3 separate regions of the Homo sapiens genome follow, and regions 2 and 3 are each linked to region 1. The links are contacts of gene promoters, found by promoter capture Hi-C in human tissues and cell types (Jung and others, 2019). All regions are on one chromosome and are shown on one strand. Each heading gives the region's core, a stretch centred on a gene start or on the middle of the fragment in contact. The rest is flanking DNA. Distances are from core to core; before and after follow the strand shown.

The links. The method cuts DNA at HindIII sites, captures the fragments that hold promoters and counts their contacts. A contact is called where the count stands out against the background at its distance.
Region 2: a fragment that was not itself captured here is called in contact with the fragment with the promoter of PAM16 in region 1 in 2 of the 25 tissues and cell types used here (mesenchymal stem cells and mesendoderm cells).
Region 3: a fragment that was not itself captured here is called in contact with the fragment with the promoter of PAM16 in region 1 in 1 of the 25 tissues and cell types used here (dorsolateral prefrontal cortex).

The regions. Positions count from the first base shown.
Region 1 is chr16:4,349,975-4,352,741 of GRCh38, forward strand. PAM16 (presequence translocase associated motor 16) reads right to left here and starts at 1,347. Exons shown (of 5, transcript NM_016069.11): 1 at 1,258-1,347. The coding sequence starts at 1,260. The region is part of intron 27 of CORO7-PAM16 (CORO7-PAM16 readthrough); the gene reads right to left. The HindIII fragment of the contact is 27,496 bases long and covers 1-2,767 here.
Region 2 is chr16:3,811,729-3,814,428 of GRCh38, forward strand. All of the region lies in intron 2 of CREBBP (CREB binding lysine acetyltransferase), which reads right to left. Among named protein-coding and RNA genes, the nearest start is that of CREBBP, 68 kb to the right of the region's middle. The HindIII fragment of the contact is 6,097 bases long and covers 1-2,700 here.
Region 3 is chr16:3,787,545-3,790,244 of GRCh38, forward strand. All of the region lies in intron 5 of CREBBP (CREB binding lysine acetyltransferase), which reads right to left. Among named protein-coding and RNA genes, the nearest start is that of TRAP1, 71 kb to the left of the region's middle. RefSeq lists enhancers at 312-371, 442-741. The HindIII fragment of the contact is 10,000 bases long and covers 1-2,700 here.

The sequences.
Region 1 (2,767 bases), core at 97-2,596:
GTACGCCGTTAGCTGTTACATTATCCTTATTACTATGTTAGTTAAGAAGTGGCTCCCCGAACCAGCTGCAACAGAGTCACTTGGGGAACTTACGTGTGCAGAACCTCCAGGGATAGAGCTCAAGAACCTGAACTTTTTTTTTCCCCCTCTTTTTCTTTTTGAGAGAGTTTTGCCCTGTCGCCCAGACTGGAGTGCAGTGGCACAATCTTGGTTCACTGCAGCCTCTGCCTCCTGGGTTCAAGCGATACTGGCGCCTCAACTTCCCAAGCAGCTGGGATTACAGGTGTGTGCCACCATGCCTGGCTAACATATGTATATATTATGTGTGTGTGTGTGTATATATATATATAAAATACATGATATATAAAAATATATATAACATAATAATATGTAGTATACATAAATGTATACGGTATATATAATACATATATATAATTTTTTTTTTGAGACGCAGTCTCACCCTGTCGCCCAGGCTAGAGTGCACTGGCGGATCTCGGCTCATTGCAACCTCTGTCTCGCGGGTTCAAGCGTCTGTCCTGCCTCAGCCTCCCGGGTAGCTTGGACTACAGGCGCGCACCACCCCACCCGGCTAATTTTTTAAATTTTTTGGTGGAGACCGGGTTTCATCATGTTGGCCAGGCTGGTCTCGAACTCCTGACCTCGTGATCCGCCGCCTCGGCCTCCCAGAGTGCTGGGATTACAGGCGTGAGCCACCGCGCCCAGCCAAACCTGCACTTTTAAAGCTACCCTAGGTGACCTGACAGTGTGGCGCAGGTCTGTTGACTGGCTCTACGTGCCAACGATATCACACAAACGCTCCGTGCTCGGTGTCTCGGGGCCTAGTTCAAGTCCCAGGTCAGCCACTTCCCTGGAAAGGCCAGCTTTCCACTGGGGATAACAACAGGGCAGCAACATCGACTCTGCAGCGCTGTAAGGTTCCAGGGCAGGGGAGGCGCTCACCAGCCAGACTCATGCTCCACCGCTGCCCACGGCTGCTCGCTCACACGCGGGCTAGGCACAGCGCGACCACGTTTGCCCGGCCTCTTCCAGGCAGACGGTTTTCCCTGGCCCTGAGGCCGCCGGTGCCGCCGCTGCCGGCCTCGATTCCCCCGGGTGCAACGCCCCCAGACCATGCTTCCCGCCGGGCACGCAGGGGGCGCACGGCGCCCGCCGCCCAGCCCGGAGCTCGCCGCCCGGCCCCCGGCCCCCGGCCCGACTCGGCTTCCCCTCCCCGGTAGCGCCCGACTCGGGGCTCACCATGGCAGCCGCTCTGCCTCCGGGGCTCAAACTCCGACTTCCTGGCCCCGCGGCCGGGGATCAAGCGTGGTCGGCGGGTCAGAGGTCAAGGAAAGCCGCAGAGAGCGCGTGCGCGATACGGCGCTGGGCATGCGCATTGCCTCAGTCTAAGGGCGGGCCACCGGGAGCGTCTTAGCGGCTCGGGGCGGGGTCGGAGGCGGGGTTTGACTGAGCCTGCGTCGGGCTCTGGATAACTGGGGGCGGGCTTGGGAGGGCAAGGGGCGTTACCGGGAGTCTCAATTGCCCGCGTGCTTACCCCAGTGCGCTGGAGCAGCTAAGCACATCGGTCAGACGTGGGGCGATTTCTGCCCTTGATTTTGCCAAAATATTTGGGAATGCAACATTATATGAAATCAATGAACATAATATGGAGTAGGATGCTAAATTCTCAAAAATACTTTAGAAAATAGAAAACTTCAAAATAGGTTTCATCCACATTCCTCCTGCCTGAGAAGCTCGTTCCCTTCTTCAAATCTTTGCTCAAATGTCACCTCAATGAGGCCCACCTGGACCCCTTAAAACGCCGTGACTTGCCCTCCATGAATGAAAAAAGTAACAGCTTTATTGAGATATAATCCATACACTGTAGATTTCATGATTTTCAAGTGCACAGTCCAATGCCTTTTATTCACAGAGCTGTGCCACTGTCACCACTATTAGTTCCAGAACGTTTTCATCACCCATTAGTCACTCCCCAGCCCCCTCCCCCAGCCCCTGTCAACCACTCATTTTTCTCTCTATGGATTCACAGGTTCCGGACATTTCATAGAAATGGAATCATACAAGCCAGGCGTGGTGGCTCATGCCTGCAATCTCAAAACTTTGGGAGGCCGAGGTGGATCGCTTGAGGTCAGGAACTCAAGGCCAGGCTGGGCAACATGGTGAAACCCCATCTCTACAAATACAAAAATTAGCCGGGTGTGGTGGCAGGTGCCTGTAATCCCAGCTACTTGGGAGGCTGAGTGGTGGATCTCTTGAGCCCGGGAGGTACAGGCTGCAGTGAGCTGTGATCACTGCACTCCAGCCTGGGTGACAGAGTCAGGCCCTGCCTCAAAAAAAAAAAAAAAAAAAAAAAAGGTAAAAATGAAAAATGAAAAAAAAGAAGAAATTGAATCATACAATGTGCAGCCTTTTGTGACTGGCTTATCCTCCCTTCTTGTCTCTATTTTTCTTCCAAGACTCTGATCACCCTCTACCATACCACATAATTTACTTATTTATTTTATTTATCATTTTGAGACAGGGTCTCACCCTGTCGCCCAGGCTGGAGTCCAGTGGCACAATCCTGCCTCACTGCAACCTCCACCTCCCAGGTTCAGGCGATGCTCATGCTTTAGCCTCCTGAGTAGCTGGGATTACAGGCATGGACCACCATGCCCCATTAATTTTTGAATTTTTAGTAGAGACAGGGTTTCACCATGTTGGCCAGGCTGGTCTTGAACTACTGGTCTCAAATGATCCACCCGCCACA
Region 2 (2,700 bases), core at 87-2,586, 540 kb before region 1:
GGTGATCCATCCACCTTGGCCTCCCAAAGTGCTCGGATTACAGGCATGAGCCACCGTGCCCGGCCCCTTACGGTTTTCCTAATAACGTTTTCTTTTCTCTAGCTTACTTCACTGTAAAGATACAGTATATAACACATAAAACATGAAATTTGTGTTAAGCAAATGTGTATGCTATTGGTAAGGCTTCTGATCAACAGCAGGGGATTAGTAGTAGTTAAACTTTTATGGAGTCAAAAGGTTACAAGCAGATTTTCGACTGGCAGGGTCAGCACCCTTAACCCCTGAGTTGCTTAAGGGTCACCTCTAATCCACTGGGCAGGAGGAGGTGGCAGGAAAAGGGCATAGATGGAGAGAGCCTGGTAAGGTACTGATAATCACTAACCAAGCAGTAGGCGATGGGTACAGAGAGGTTATAGTATCCTCTCTACCACTGTACAGGTGTAAAATTTATGTATTTATTTATATTTTTTGAGAGTGTGTCACTCTGTCACCCAGGCTGGAGTGCAGTGGCGTGATCTCGGCTCACTGAAACCTCCCTCTCCCAGGTTCAAGCAATTCTCCTGCCTCAGCCTCCTGAGTAGCTGGGATTATGGGCTCGTGCCATCACACCCAGCTAATTTTTGTATTTTTAGTAGAGACAAAGTTTCATCATGTTGGCCAAGCTGGTCTTGAACTCCTGACCTCAGGTGATCCGCCCACCTTGGCCTCCCAATGTACTGGGATTACAGGTGTGAGCCACTGCGCCCGGCCTAAAATTTTCCATAATAAAGTTTTTTATAAAATTAAAGTGCACTGAAATCAAATATATACTAGATAAAGGCAGGAATGGGAAAGAGGAACCCTCAGCTATGCTTCCGTGAGGGCCTGCAACCAACTGGAATTCCTTCCATCAACAGATGTGGGCCAAGTTCCCTGATGACCCCCAGCTCCAGCCTCCACAGGTCAATTCAGGAATTGCCATGGCAATATCCCAGTGCTTATCTTTCTCCCTGTGGAGAAACAACGACTAATTAAGAAACTGGATGCTTGGGCTGCCTGTCTTTGCTTTTTTGCAAAGCTCTAATATTCCACCTTCTGTCTATTGTGTGTTCTGTATTTCTGGAGTAGTGGTCAGTTTGATGGACTGGGAAGGTCCCCGCATAGGGAAAACCTCCCAGGGGTGAGTTTCCAGTTAAGAAATCATAGCTCAGTTCTCTCCATCAGCCTCACCTGGTGACTGCCACGCCAGCATGTCCACTCTGGGTAACTTAACATTCCTTCTATGGACTTCAAACTCCTCGCCTGTAAGATGAGTGTCTTGAACAAGATGGATCGTATTATTTCTTTCAGCTCTAAAAGTCTAGGCTACAAACAAATCAACACTCAACACAACTGGCCCTTTCTGCTGAAATGCCTGTACAGAAACACAAATAAAAACCAAAGGAGTATAACCAGAAAGTTCTAGCTCTGTGCATTTCATACGCAGGTGATTTCCTTCCCCATGTAGTCCTCCTAGGTGACATTTCTCACCTTTTGGAAAGCAATCACATTCTTGTCACCACTAGGTGCTCTACTTAAGTGAACTGAGACACTAATTCTTCTGCAAGTCCACAAACCAGACTCAATTTCGAGTTCAAATGACTTAATCTAGGCAAGATGGTAGCTCGATAAATATTAAGCACATTTCTGATTTGCAAGAAGCTTCCTTCAACTGTCATCTGAAACTTAATTGAAGCAGGAATTTATATTTTCAGAAACCACTATACTAAATTAATTCCATGGAACACTTACTACTCTCAGAATTTGTCTTATTACATATAACCAAACCGCTGAAACATTGTTCTTAGAAGCCTAGAATTTGAATACAACAACACGAACAACAACAAAAAATATAGTTTTTTTTCCCCCAGTTCCTAAATTTCTGACTTCGGACAAAATATGACAGAACACCCACACTCATTTTCCCTCGATCAATTCATCCTCGAAGTCAACTGGTATTCACCAAGTGCCTGGTATGAGCCAAGCCCAGTTCTGAGGCTGCGTAGATGCATTTCCCACTTGTCACGGAGCTCACACCTTATGTCAACCAATTTGACAAACAAACAAACAAAAAATCAACGTCTTTTGGAAGTTTCTAATTAATTAGGCCCAGCATTGACAAACCAAAGTGGGTGACAGCTGAAGGGGTGGGGAAGGGAACAGGTAACCATCTTCCTTCCACACCAAATGCCCAGGCACCCTGGCTCCAGAGAAGAGGGGACCTAAGTACCAAGAGGCCAGTGTGCTCTGTGGACCTCAAAGTTCACCTGACTTGCTTCAGAAAGTTTATTTCCAAAACTTCCCAGATATTTTGACAATTTTCCTAAGATAGCCCTGCCAGGGTGAGTATGAGTGTGTGATCAGATGGGTAATACTTGCCTGGCCTGGGGCCCTTTTCTAACTGGTCAATGTTGTTTAGTGTGTGTGTGTGTGTGTGTGTGTGTGTGTGTTTGAGACAGAGTCTCGTTCTGTGTGTGTGTGTGTGTGTGTGTGTGTGTGTGTGTGTGTGTGTGTGTGTGTGTGTTTGAGACAGAGTCTCGTTCTGTTGCCTAGGCTGGAATGCAGTGGCATGATTTCAGCTCCCTGCAACCTCCGCCTCCCAGATTCAAGCAATTCTCGTGTCTCAGCCTCCCAAGTAGTTGAGTTCACAGGCATGCACCACCACACCCAGCAAATTTTTGT
Region 3 (2,700 bases), core at 6-2,505, 560 kb before region 1:
CACACACTCACTGGGCACCTGATGGGCTATTCGATGAGTGGCAGTTCAAAGGACGGAGATCTTGACTCCATATAAAAAAAGGAGGTTTTTTTTTTTGTTTTGTTTTGGTTTTTTGTTTTGTTTTGTTTTGTTTGAGACGTAGTCTTGCTCTGTCGCCCAGGCTGGAGTGCAGTGGTGCGATCTTGGCTCACTGCAACCTCTGCCTCCCGGGTTCATCAAGTCATTCTCCTGCCTCAGCCTCCCACCTCAGGATACCGAGTAGCTGGGACTACAGGCGCATGCTGCCATGCCCAGCTAATTATTTGTATTTTAGTAGAGACGGGGTTTCACTGTGTTGCTCAGGCTGGTGTTGAACATGAGCTCAGGCAACCCGCCTGTCTCACTCAGCCTCCCAAAGTGCAAGGATTACAGACGTTAGCCACTGCGTCCGGCCAAAAGGAGGTGTTTTAAACAATCTGAGGCACCTACAGATGGAACATGTTGCCAGGTGAAGCAGTGGGAGCTACACTCATGGAGATGCCGGGCAGCAGCTGGGGCCATGGCTGACGCAGCCGGGACAGTGCGTGCATTAGGCTGGCTCTGGGGCCGACCCTGCACACTTGCTTCAACAGTCCCTGGGGGACTCTAGGTTGGAAAACCCCTGGTCTCTCTCTCAGAGAATGACTCAAACCCTCTCACCAGCACTGGCCCAGATACCTGGTCTTCCAAGGCATCCAGAGCAGTGCATCTCAGATTTTAATGTGCACACTAATCACCCAGGATTTTTATAAAAATGCAGGTTTTAATATAAGAGGTCTCAAATGGGGGCCCAATTTCTTTATTGCTTACAACCTGGGAGCACCTCTATGGCTTCCCTGAGGCCTACACTTTGAGCAGCAAGAACTTCACAAGTGAGGCAGCATAAGCCCCAAGAGGGGAACCTGCTCACGGGTCCCAAAGCCCAGTCAACCATGCCACTCTGTGCACTGAATTTACTGGAGGTCAGATGCCAGGACTGACATAAGATACTTATCTTGGCAAGTCCTAATTATTCAAAAAAAATTGAATATTGCTATAAGGGATGGTTAACTCGAGATCAGTGATTACAGAATCTTTAAAAAACAATTCAAGGAAAAATCGAATGAGGCCAGGCGCGGTGGCTCACGCCTCTAATCCCAGGACTTTTGGGAGGTCAAGGTGGGAAGATCACTTGAGCTCAGGAGTTCGAGACAAGCCTGAGCAACATGGTGAAACCCCATCTCTACAAAAAATACAAAAATTAGCCAGGTATGGTGGCAGATGCCTGCAGTCCCAGGTACTCAGGAGGCTGAAGTGGAATGACTGCTTGAGCCCGAGAGGTTGAGGCTGCAGTGAGACTTGGCTATGCCACTGCATGCCAGTCTGGGTGACAGAGCAAGACTCCGTCTCAAAACAAACCAACCAACCAAACAAAACTCAACACAGGCCAAAAAGGTAATCAATGGTCTGGGCTTCATTTCAAAGAACCTCAGATTAGCGCCACAGGTGATTCTGGAAGGTTCTCTCAGTAGAGACATTAATCACAGAAGTTAAGAGAGTGGAGCATGTGCTGACCAAGGAAGTGTGCATCAGGTAAGACCAGCGCTGGCCTGTGGGAAACACTGCCTAAAAAGCAGAGTCCCGGGGCCCCTAAGGCAGTCTCCACAGAGCGAGCACAGGTGGGTCTCGGCAGAGTCCCTGAGGCTTCCAGGAGCTCATCACAGTCCACCTTTCTGTTCACCTCGTTTGCACAGGAACCCCAGTCCAGTCAAATGCATGCCCTCACAAGCTGTGCACTGTGCAGACACTGTCCCCACTGTCTGAAATGTTCTTCCTTTGTTATTCTGTTTGCACTGGGCTCCACCAAGTCCCACCTTTCTCTACAAAGTAGTCAGGTGCGCTCCAATTCTCCTCGAAAAGAATGCTGATTGCACTGACTTGTCTCTACCTCGGTCCTTTGAGGGAGGTCACCCTTACGTTATTTTTAACATATATATTGTCTTCAAAACCCAACCTTAAGCCAACGTAGGGTCAGATTCACATTTTCCTCTCTGGGTTCCTAACTCAAGAGTTCACACACGATAAGCATAATTTGCTTTGGGAGAAGAGAAAAAACAATAAAATTTACAAAAAGGATATTGCTGAAACCTTGTCAATCATACTTTTGTAAAAAAAAACTACCAAAACCTTGCAGCAAGTTAATCTAAATCTTCCTTGTGACTTTATAAAATCATCCTGGTAATATCTTACATTCTGACTAGTAGAAAACCTGTGGTTTACCACTTGAGAGAGCATGCACAGAATCAATTTTCACAACACTCAGGCCGTTATAAGGATGGTTTAAAAAAAAAAAACCACATACGCTTCTTTTTTCTTTTAAAACAAAAACCACATAAGTGTTTCTTAAAAAGAGAAATCACCAAAGTTTACAACTGTCATGGTAGTATGTACTAAAAACAAAAGATCCTCAAAAAGCCACACCCCCAAATTAAAGTTAAGAATAAAATTCTAGCTCATTATTCATAGAATATTGTATAACTACAAACTTGACAATGAATATTTTGGCACTTAAAGAGCCTATTACTGAAATGTGCCCTAAAACACAAGAAATTTAGCCATCACAATATACTAAAGAAAAAACTTTTACAGTAATGTGGGAGGAAAAACAGACTGTATTCCATTAGAACTACTGTCCCAAATATC